Regions from separate parts of the Homo sapiens genome. Here regions 2 and 3 are each linked to region 1. The links are contacts of gene promoters, found by promoter capture Hi-C in blood cells and fetal thymus (Javierre and others, 2016). All regions are on one chromosome and are shown on one strand. Each heading gives the region's core, a stretch centred on a gene start or on the middle of the fragment in contact. The rest is flanking DNA. Distances are from core to core; before and after follow the strand shown.

The links. Contacts are between HindIII fragments. The CHiCAGO score rates a contact against its expected background, and 5 or more counts as called.
Region 2: a fragment that was not itself captured here is called in contact with the fragment with the promoter of AK7 in region 1 in 1 of 17 cell types (erythroblasts); the score reaches 7.3 in erythroblasts.
Region 3: a contact is called between a fragment that was not itself captured here and the fragment with the promoter of AK7 in region 1, in 1 of 17 cell types (total CD8 T cells). The highest score is 5.3, in total CD8 T cells.

The regions. Positions count from the first base shown.
Region 1 is chr14:96,390,200-96,394,033 of GRCh38, reverse strand. AK7 (adenylate kinase 7) reads right to left here and starts at 1,906. Exons shown (of 18, transcript NM_152327.5): 1 at 1,775-1,906. The coding sequence starts at 1,879. RefSeq lists a silencer at 1,837-2,346. The HindIII fragment of the contact is 12,427 bases long and covers 1-3,834 here.
Region 2 is chr14:96,310,059-96,313,558 of GRCh38, reverse strand. ATG2B (autophagy related 2B) reads left to right here. Exons shown (of 42, transcript NM_018036.7): 24 at 124-230; 25 at 402-494; 26 at 1,400-1,470; 27 at 1,941-2,017; 28 at 2,272-2,442. Among named protein-coding and RNA genes, the nearest start is that of BDKRB1-AS1, 43 kb to the right of the region's middle. The HindIII fragment of the contact is 1,382 bases long and covers 1,362-2,743 here.
Region 3 is chr14:96,290,690-96,294,540 of GRCh38, reverse strand. ATG2B (autophagy related 2B) reads left to right here. Exons shown (of 42, transcript NM_018036.7): 37 at 2,443-2,512; 38 at 2,859-2,941; 39 at 3,606-3,727. Among named protein-coding and RNA genes, the nearest start is that of BDKRB1-AS1, 24 kb to the right of the region's middle. The HindIII fragment of the contact is 756 bases long and covers 2,211-2,966 here.

The sequences.
Region 1 (3,834 bases), core at 657-3,156:
GGGTTCAAGTGATTTTCCTGCCTCAGCCTCCAGAGCAGCTGAGATTATAGGCGCCTGCCACCACGCCCGGTTAATTTTTGTACTTTTAGTAGAGACAGGGTTTCACTATGTTGGCCAGGCTGGTCTCGAACTCCTGACCTCAGGTGATCCACCCACCTCGGCCTCCCAAAGTGCTAGTATTACACCACGCCCACCCTAAATCTCTGTTTTTTGATGGATGCATTTTAGATGGTACACTGGGTTAAATAGCGTCTACCCCCACCAAATTCCTGTCCTCTTAGAACCTGTGAATGTGGCCTTATTTGGAAATAGGGTCTTTGCAGATGTAATCAAGTTAAAATGAAGCCATATTGGATAGGGTGAGTCCTCATCCAACAACTGGTGTCCTTATGAGAAGAGGGAAGTTTTGACACAGAGACACAGGGGAGAGAACACCATGTGAAGAAGGTGGCAGAGATTGGAGTCTACTGCCAAGGGGTGCCAAGAATTATTGGCAACTACCAGAAGCTAGGAGAGGGGCAAGCAACAGTTCTTCCCCTGGAGCTTCCAGTAGAAACCAACCCTGCTGACACCTTGATCTTGGACTTCTGCCCTCAAGAACTGCGAGAGAATAATTTCTGTTTTATAAGGTCATCCAGTTTGTGGCAATTGGTTACCACAGCCCTAGAAAACTAATACAGATTGTACGTACTGTAGCCTCATCCTATTTTAAGCAGATTTGTCCTGTTCGAAAGTGCAGTCATTAGCCTCAGAGAAGTCTGTCCAGGGTGAGATTAGATTTCTCTGTAGCTCTAGAGGACAGAATTCAGATGGACGGGTCCTACCCACAGGGAATGATAAAATCATGGCTTTCTTTTGACAACTGATCATATTAGCATGAAGGGCCCCAGAGCCCTTTTTCTGAATATCTTCATTTTCCAGGGATAAAGACACAGAAAGGTGAGGAAACTTAATGGAACTCGGGGACCCAAACAGTGTCTGGTCCATAATAGATGCTCAAAAACCATATATTGAAGGGATGGATGAATGAAAAACGCTTCATGGGCAATATAAAAATTTGATTTACTCACGCCTGTAATCCCTTTTGGATTTACTCGGCCTGTAATTTGGGAGGCCGAGACGGGTGGGTCACGAGGTCAGGAGATCGATCGAGACCATCCTGGCTAACACAGTGAAACCCCGTCTCTGCTAAAAATACAAAAAATTAGCCGGGCGCGGTGTCGGGCGCCTGTAGTCCCAGCTACTCGGAGGCTGAGGCAGGAGAATGGCGTGAACCCGGGAGGCGGAGCTTGCAGTGAGCCGAGATCGCGCCACTGCACTCCAGCCTGGGCGACAGAGCAAGGCTCCGTCTCAAAAAAAAAAAATTGATTTATTTTCTCGTTTAGCTGCCTGCTTCAAAATCGATGGAAGGGTAGAAAGAGAACCTAGGAGGGGGCAAGAGACCTGGAGTCTCTGTCCAGGTTCTGGCCTCAACTCTCTATGTGATCTTGGGCAAGTCCCTGCCTCTTAGCCTCAGTTTCCCCTCATTAAAAGGAGGAACAGGGGATGGACCAGTGATTTCCAGACACCTGAGCTTCCATGTAGAATCTCTTGACCAGCCTGGGTGCGGACTGGGGTCCAGGGGGCATTGGTGGTGCCCAGGACGCGGGACCCTCCCTGAGGAAAGGCCCCGACAGCGCCCTGGGGCGCAGACCCTCGCTGGGTTTGCGGACCGGGGGCCGAGGGCTGGGAGCTGAGAGCTGGCGTGAGGCTCTGGGCCGCCGCCGCCGCTCACCTTCCCGATGTTTCCGCTGCTGTAGGAATCCAACAGGTTTATAAACACCCTCTGGGTCCGGATAACCTTCTCCGTGAGAGCAGCAGTTTCCTCTTCTTCAGCCATGGTGGGAGCCGCGCTGGTTGCTAAGGTGAAAGCGCCACTCGCTTGCCAAGGAGGCGGGGCCCGGGCCAGGGAGGCGGGGCAGGTTCTCTCTGGGGGCGGGGCCTTGGCTCCGGGCAGTTTGCCGGGCGGGGAGGGGCGTGTCGTGGGCGAAGCAGGGAGTGCCGGGCGGGGCGGTGCGTGTCGTGCCCGGCGCTAATCAGGGCGTGCCAGGCGGGACGGGGCAGGCTGTGCCGGTCGCTGGGCGGGGCGTGCCGGGTAGGGCGGGGCGAGTCGTGCCGGGGGGTTGGGCGGGGCATGCCGGGCAGGGCGGGGTGTGTAGTGCAGTGGGCTGGGCGGGGCGCGCCGGGCGAAGCGGGGCTCAGGGCTCGCAACTGCGCGCGCTGTCGGCTGCTGGGCGCCAGGCGGATGTCCCTGCGAGTGCTTTCCGCGGCGCCGCGCGTGCAGCCCGGGTCTCACCCTGGCTTGCTGCCCACTGGGAGCCCTTGGGCAGTGCATGGTTTCTTTCCGAAGCTCCCTGGGCGTCTGTCCCGGGGGGCCATGTGATTGCTGTGCCTTTTTAATCTCCATTGTTCGGAAAGTCTGGAAACACATCCCTGTGTCCGCTTGACCCGATGACTAAAAATAATGAGAATTCTGAAGAAGAGGGAATGGCCCACAGCCTAGGCCTCTCCCCGACACGTGGGAGTTACTCAGCACGCTCCCATGGGGTGGTCTGGCCGGGGCGACGGGACGTAAGCCTCAGCTGCGAAGAAAAGCTGTTGCCATGGAGTTTCGGGCTCCCGAACACCCGAGCGACGCTAGCGTGGTCCCGCCTTGCGGCAGGTGCGGCTTGGTCCGCCGGCTCAGCTCCCTTGGGGGTTGTTTCCAGACGCACGTTCCGGGAAGACCCCTGGTGTCGGCTGGGGGCGACCAGAGCCCGTAGGCGCCCGGGATTCGCTCACATTCACCAAGGGAAGAAATTTAGACTTGACCGTTCCACAAGAGATTATACATGCAGTTGCTGAGATAAATCCACAAATTAAAAGATAACATTCACCTCGGTGATCACTGGACCATAAAGGTTGTGGTGGACTAAGAATACGCAGTTCCCTTGGAATAGCCTGATCATATTGAACTGTTTTCATGCCTTAAGCATTAACTCCTTAAATGCAAATATTTAACACTTGCAGCAATTGTGTGTGCGTGGTTTCTTCTCGTTCTTTTTATTATTTTTAATAGAGACAGGGTCTCACTATGTTTGTTGCCCAGGCTAGTCTCTAACTCCGGAGCTCAAGAAACTCTCCTGCCTCGTCCTCCCAAAGTGCTGGTATTACAGGCATGAGCCACCACGCCAGCGTTCTTGTTCTTTTTATTTTTAATTTATTTTTTTGAGATGGAGTCTCGCTCTGTCACCCAGACTGGAGTGCAATGGCATAATCTCAGCTCACTGCAACCTCGCCTCCCGGGTTCAAGCGATTCTCCTGCCTCAGCCTTCGAAGTAGCTGGGACTACAGGCGCCTACCACCGTTCCCGGCTAATTTTTGTATTTTTAGTAGAGACAGGTTTTCAGCATGTTGGTCACGCTGGTCTTGAACTTCTGGCCTCAAGTGATCCACCCGCCTCGGCCTCTCAAAGTGCTGTGATTTACAGGTGTGAGGCACCCCACCTGGCCTTCTTCTTTTTAAAAAATACTGGTTGTTTCAAAAAACGGAGGTGGCCCAACATCTTCAGACAGCTTGGAGGCTCTGGGCTTTCAGGCACTCATGAGACTTGGCTTTGAGTTTCAGCTCTCCAGTGATTTGTGGGAGGCTGGGACCAATCTTTTAACTTTCCCTATGCTGTTAAATTGTCTGTAAAATAGGAGTGATACCACCAGCCTAACAAGGCTGTTAGGATTAAATAAGACATATGTGAAGCATTTTCTGAAGTGGTCGCCAAAGGTGAAATTATTGCTTTTTTTTCCTGCAAGGCTAAGG
Region 2 (3,500 bases), core at 803-3,302, 81 kb after region 1:
TTATGATTTTCCAATTAAATGATTTTTTCTGTGAGATATTCTGGTTTACATTGGTATTAAGGATATTATATGAAACCTTTTTTTTCTTCTAAAGCAGGGCGTTTTAATTTTTTGTGATTATAGATTTTATACTTCTTGAATATTGCTGATGAACCTGTTTTGGGATATAATCCTCCAACTTCATTTACAACTTTTCATGTTCATCTTTGGAGCTGTGCACTTGATTATAGGTAAGTTCACAAATGGAACAAAATAAAGTTTTATTTAAAATGCTACTAAATTTTGAAAAAAATACATAATTCAGTAGAGTTAAGGTTCAAATTGTTGTTGTTGTTGTTGTTTTTAATAGAGTTTCTGGAGCCGTATCAAACTGATGTTCTTTTGTTTCTCTTTGGCATTAGACCCCTTTATTTGCCAATCCGATCTCTTCTTACCGTGGAAACATTCAGTGTTTCCAGTAGCGTTGCATTGGATAAATCTTCCTCTACTCTCAGGTACCTGTGTAAACTTCATTGTATACTAAACAAAGCTGTTCGAAACATACCAATTGATATTTACCTAAACCATTTTATTAAAGTCTCAATTTTTTGTTAAACGTTCTTTTACTAATAGTTATAACCTTTTACCCAAATTACCCAATTTTTCTCAGGTGACATGTTTCATCTACCCATTTATTATTGCATTTCATTTTTAGGGAAGAAATTAATTCTGGAGATTCTTTAAAAAGTTTGCATTTTAAAACATATGGTAAACTTCCCATGCTACCTGATACACTTTATACTTTTTATTTAATTTTTTTATTTTTTAGAGACAGGGTCTTGCTCTGTGTGGCCCAGGCTGGAATGCAGTGGCATGATCACAGCTTATTACAGCTTTCAACTCCTGAGCCCAAGTGATCTTTTGCCCTCACCCTACTGAGTAGCTAGGACTATAGACGTGTGCCTCTATCCCTGGCTGATTAAAAAAAAAGTTTTGTTTTTGTAGAGAAGGGGTCTTGCTGTGTTGCCCAGGCTAGTTGAGAACTCCTGGCCTCAGGTGGTCCTCCTGCCTTGTCCTCCCAAACGGCTGGGATTACAGGTGTGAGCCACTACATCTGGCCCACTCTATCTTTATACTATAGTTTAAACCTTGTGAATTTGGGCATCTCTTTAAAAACTGCCAAAAATTTAGAATTAATTTGAGTAGATGATTTAATCTAATTCTTTACACCATTTAAATATTCCTAGCATTCATAAACAGTTTTTAAAAAATGTTAGATGACAGTTATAAGTTAGAAACTGCTTATGATTTCAACAATGTTCATACCAGAAAGAATGATGCAATTAAGCATATAGTGATTATGGGGTATGATACTCAAAGCTTAGTTTTTCAGATGTTGGTTTTATCTTTCTTGCCTCAGAATAATCTTGGATGAAGCTGCTTTACATCTATCTGACAAATGCAATACTGTCACTATAAATCTGAGTAGAGGTAAGAGTTAAAAAACAAATGGAGTAGATAAATTCTGCTTTATTTTTGTGCGTAAATAATTTTAAAGCATTTTAACTCTGGGATAATGCTAGTGAACTAAGAATCTTATTAAAGATCCTTAAAGATTAAAGGGTCTTTAAGTATATAGTGATCATGTGGTATATATTCACAGCTTCATTTTTCAGATACTGGTTTTTCAGTTTGAAATTGTAATGTTCTTATAATGCTAGTTAAGTACATCAAATTACTATATATACTACAAATTTTTATTTAAGATAATTTTTGTTTCTAACAAAAAATAAAGTGAATTTTAGGACTTCTATGGGATGAAACTATTTTCATTGCATTATAATTATTTGTAGTGCTCTCTGCAATGAATTTTAAAGGAATGCTAGTTGTATTGGGTGTTGGTTGGATACACATTTTTGAAAGCTGTACTGAAGAGATTTTCTTAATTTTAAAAATTTTAGATTATGTTCGTGTGATGGATATGGGGCTTTTGGAGTTAACCATAACTGCAGTGAAGTCTGATTCTGATGGAGAGCAAGTGAGTTATTAAAATAAATGAAAATTTTAAGTTCTATTTTTTAAGAGATTAAAAAAATTGAGTTTAACATTTTTCCGTGTACCTAATTTTGGTCAGAAATAGAGTAAGTATATTAAAAATGGATTTATTTAAATACTTTTTTTATGTAGCGAGACAGATTATCATGAATCTTATTTAATGTAAATCTATGCAAAAAAAGAAACTTTTGTCTCATTTGGAAAACATTTTCATCCCTTTTTCTGTGTCTTGTCCAGACTGAGCCCCGCTTTGAGTTACACTGTTCCAGCGATGTTGTCCATATCAGAACGTGCTCAGACTCTTGTGCTGCGTTAATGAATCTCATTCAGTACATTGCAAGCTATGGTGACTTGCAGACACCTAACAAGGCAGATATGAAGCCTGGAGCCTTTCAAAGAAGGTCTAAGGTACAGTCAGCAATGTGATTCCTCCAGTCCCTGCCATGTCGTGACATGTTTACATTATTGAGGTCTTCATGACAGTCATAAGGTAGAAAAGAAACTTTGAAAGTCATTCATCTGTTCTTTACCTTCAGAATAATGGGGTCTGAAACGGTGGTTTCATGGGCCTTTTTGGAAAACCATTCTGCTGTTTTGATATTCTTTGTTTCCATTAATCTTCCTAGCAAACATCATACTTTTTTTTTTCTAGACTTGTTATTTTCATCTGTCCTAAGGGAAGAAAGAAAACATTTATCATGCAAAAGCTTGTTCTATGCAAGTTGTATGTAAAAATGCTATGAAAAGATAGATGGCAGGTGTTAGTATTGTTACCAGAAGACTTACTTATATCATCATATTTTCCCTATTTTTTTATCTCTAAGACAATCCAGTTTTCAGTGTACTTTGTCATATATGACTTCCTTTTCCTTTCATGATGACCTGGTGAGATAGAGAGGTTAAAAATTAATAAGACCCAGAGAATTTAGATGATTGCTCTAAAGAGTAGCAGAAACAGCAACAAACCCAGATATTTTGGTGTCCAGTTCAATGCACTTTTCTGCCCCAAGTGTCACCTTTCTAACTTCTCTTATGTCCAAATTGAAGAATGTCCAGTTTGTTTAGCATTTTTTCTTTTTCATTGTTATTCTTTGTGGTCTCTCTTATGAACAGAAATCTCAGTCCCCTTAGGTTCTAGAGCCTCTGTTATGTACTCTAGTAAAGGCCTGACTGGCATCGTGTTTGTTGTCTTTTGTTCAGGATTATTTTACACTTTATTTGTGTTAATTTCTGTTTGTGACTCCTTGTTCCTGCTGTATTCTCACGATAAGGTGATTTATGACACCCCGCCTACTATTTATTCCCTTTTAAAAAACATTCTTCTTATTTTAAATTATCCCTTTCAGCTTGGAACTTGCTATTTTAGAGTCATGCTCACATATAAAAAGCACGATCTGGGTTTAATGAATCTACAGTTCACCAACCATTGGTGAAGTATTTGGTTAAGTATTTGGTGCTGGAACTGA
Region 3 (3,851 bases), core at 1,339-3,838, 100 kb after region 1:
TCCCAGTCGTTATGTGTCTTTCCTGACCCTTCCCTCCCTGCTCAGTGGGCACTGTTAAGAGACCCAGGTCCGCTGTGCTGCTGCCGTCGGCTGTGACTGCTGCCCAACGGCTCGGCCAGCTCGAGCACAGCACACTGCAGTTTCCTCATTTACAGACCTGTTTGTTCTTCTCATCTTCTTTCTTTTCCAAAACTGGATGGTAGGGATGGTGGCTTGGCCCTATGGGAAAGAGAAGGGACTGAAGATCAGTGCCCCCTTGTTATGAGGAGCAGTTACATCTTCCCTGATTTTCTGTGCTGCTTTCTCATATGTCCCGGGTTGCTGATTTCTCTCTTTCTCTCTAGGTTCTGAAGTTAGACTTTAGGCATGGGCCAAAGTCAGCAGTATTACTAATTGGAAGGGTTGTCACGTTTTAAATATTTTGCATAGTGATGAAAATAGGTAGAAAAAATGGAATATGATAATTGGAAAGATCTTGGAATAGATGATTCCTGGTGGTTCTAAATCTTTCCACCGCCAAAGAAGGACCTTTTAAAATTAATTTCCTACATTGATCCTTTTATTTTTACAAAAACATGTATCTTAAGTGATAATATGCATTCTTATTTTATTAGTCACATTTATAAACTGCCAATTTGGTTTTTGTAAACATGGGCCTGAAAGCAAAGAATTTTGCCTTTTTTTTTTAGCCCAGAGGAAGTAGGGTTACCCATTTATTTACGTTTAAAAAGTACACAAGCCCTATACTTACTTAGGTAAATGTTTATTTTTTCCATTAGACTATTTAAAATATTGAGAATAGCTTATAGATTTTCATTTGTACTCTCAAAGGCTCCTAATCAGTGCCATAGTCTAAATTACACACCTTACAAATGAGGAAATGAATGCCCAGAGAGATTAGTTGACTTGCTCAAGACCACAGTTCGTGGCCAAGGCACAACTAGAACACAGATTTTCTTATCTCTAATCCAGAAAATCCAGTACAGTTTTTAGTAATGTCATGAGAGCCCCCTTCCTCCAAACATTTATTCATTTTACAAATATTTACTGAGCACTTAACTGTATGCCAGGTTTTGATCTAGGCACAAATGAACAAAGTAGAGAAAATATTTAATTGAGTTTACAAATTGAGATTACAAATAATTAAAATAAATGGTTTGTCCTATTAATATGTGCCATGGAGAAAAAAAAAGTGAGAAAGGAGAGTATTGGAGGGCACTGGCCCGACAGCCAAGTGGAGCTGAGTATTCAGGGGATGGGCGTGACCTGGGGTCTGAGGCTTCTGGTAGTGATTGGTGTAAATATAGCATCTCCATTTTGTTGTAGGCGCAGTGGACTTTGGTGAGATGGCTTAGGATGTAACCACCAACATTAATTCTGTGGGAAAACTGTGTTTCAAGTTCCAAACATTGTTTGCAGCCAACTTTTGGAAGCCAGATCATTTTGTTAGATGTGTACCATCAGTGTACAACCAGCCCTCTATATCTGGAATTCTACATCTGAGATTCAACCAAAATATTAATTAAAAAAGGCAATAAAAATAATACAAATTAAAAATACAAAAATGATTTGCACAGCATTTACATTGTATTAATACTATAAGTAATCTAGAAATGATTTAGAGTATATGAAAGGATATGTGTGGCATATATGCAAATACTATCCCATTTTATATAAGGGACTTGAACATCAAGGGGTTTGGTATCCATAAAGGCCCTGGAAGCAATCCACTTCAGAAACCAAGGGACAACTGTATAATTATAATTTCATTCTCACACCGTTCCCTATATTTGTTTGTCGATAATTCTGTTTACTTAGAATCATTAGTTTCAAGGATTCTCACAAAATTTAACAATGTAGGTGGCATTTTAACAATTTCTGAAGACTGAGCAGCAGAGAGTTCAAGTGACTTGCCCACAGTTGCATGTCATAGATGAACCTGGGGTTCATGCCAGGATTGCTGGCTCTGTTTTACCAGACAGTCAAAATAATTCCTTAGGCCTTCTCTTTATATTTCTTGGTCATGACTATCTGGTTTAATCTTGAAGGTTGCTTTTATTAATTTATTCTTTGAATGAATTGTGAATATATATAAGAATAAATTTTTGTAAGTGTACATTATTTCATAAACTGAGAAAAGGTTTTTATTACATTTTATGTTAGTATTATTTTTATTTTCCTACACTATATAGACGTAACTAAGAAAAGCTTTCTGTGAGAAATGCAAATATAATAATATATGAGATGATTAACATCTGTTTAATTGTTATATTAGGAAAAGATAGAGCTAAAAGACATTCTCTTTTATTTAGTTCTTAAGATATTTATATGATTTATTTTGTGGTTTTGTTTTTATTCTCCAATTGAACAAATTAATTTATATCTAATTTCACCTATTAGTAATTGTAAATGTAAATAACTCCCTCCTTCCTTTATCTTCAGAGAATTTAGATTCACGTCAGAAGTTCCCATTCGACTTGATTATCATGGCAAACATGTATCAATGGATCAGGTTGGGAAACTCTACAAATATACTCCACAAAATTATCATATGTTTCTCTAATGAGCTCGTTTTTATTTTTAACTTTGCTTTGTCATAGTTTATATATATGTTTGAAATGAAGTGCAAGGTTTTTAAATTTAATTGTTTTTAATGTAAATATTTACTTAAGTACCATGAGTAAAATTTGGTATAAATTGGGTCATATGTATTGTAAGATATATATTTTTACTGTAAATATTTTAAGTGTTTTAGTATCAATAATGACTACTGCTTTGACTTTCAAAATAACAATTATTTTAGATGTTGAGTCTCTTAATTTACAGTAAGGTTAATTTGGCCTTTTTTAATTTTGAAGGGTACGCTAGCTGGGATTTTGATTGGTCTGGCTCAGTTAAACTGCTCTGAACTAAAGCTCAAGAGGCTTTCCTATCGACATGGGTAAGTGAATTTATTATATGAAGCTTTAAGTGAAGTTATCAAAGTTAGTGTACAACAAATTTAAAAACTGAGTTTTCTTAGCATGCATACACAATTTTACAGTATTTTATTTAGAGAGCTCATTTTTAGAGGACTCTTAAGATTTAGGCACTGATTTCTATTCTGAGGGATTAGAAGTAGTTTGAAAAGAGTAGTATTTGGAAAAAACAGTTATAGTTTAGGATATTTTAAATAATTTTCTAAGGTTGTAAATTAGCTTATTCAGTGAAAAGATTGGAAGTTCTTAGTAGCAATTACTGGCAATTTAGAAACTTTGGGTTAATCTTATGCCAAAGCCTTAAGATGTTCAAGAAATAAGAACATTGGAAAAACACACTAATACGTATTACCTGAGTCTTGTAGAAATTATTAACATTAGAATTGGATTTTATATATATGTGTGTGTGTATGTATGTATATGTATATTTAGAGAAATTCAGGTTGTGAGTTAAAAGGATGATTTGTGTTTCTTTTTGATTTGAAAAATGTTACCTGTTTTTGAAGCACCTGTAATATTTGCCCTTATAATTTGTAGAATTTGTTTTAAGTAAAAAAAAACCCTCAAACTAATCTGTGTCTATAAATGTATTTCTCCTTTTGACATACTAATAATCATTTGCTCTAGTTTACTAGGCGTTGACAAATTATTCTCATATGCAATCACTGAGTGGCTTAATGACATTAAGAAGAACCAGCTACCAGGAATCCTGGGAGGTGTTGGACCTATGCATTCACTAGTACAATTAGGTGAGTTTTCTTCTTTTTTAATCAAAAGATAAGTTATTTTTTCAGATGAGTAATTCTTATCCCTTTGAGAACTTATGTGAGGACCATTAGTCTAGAAAACTCACATATGTACTCATATACACAA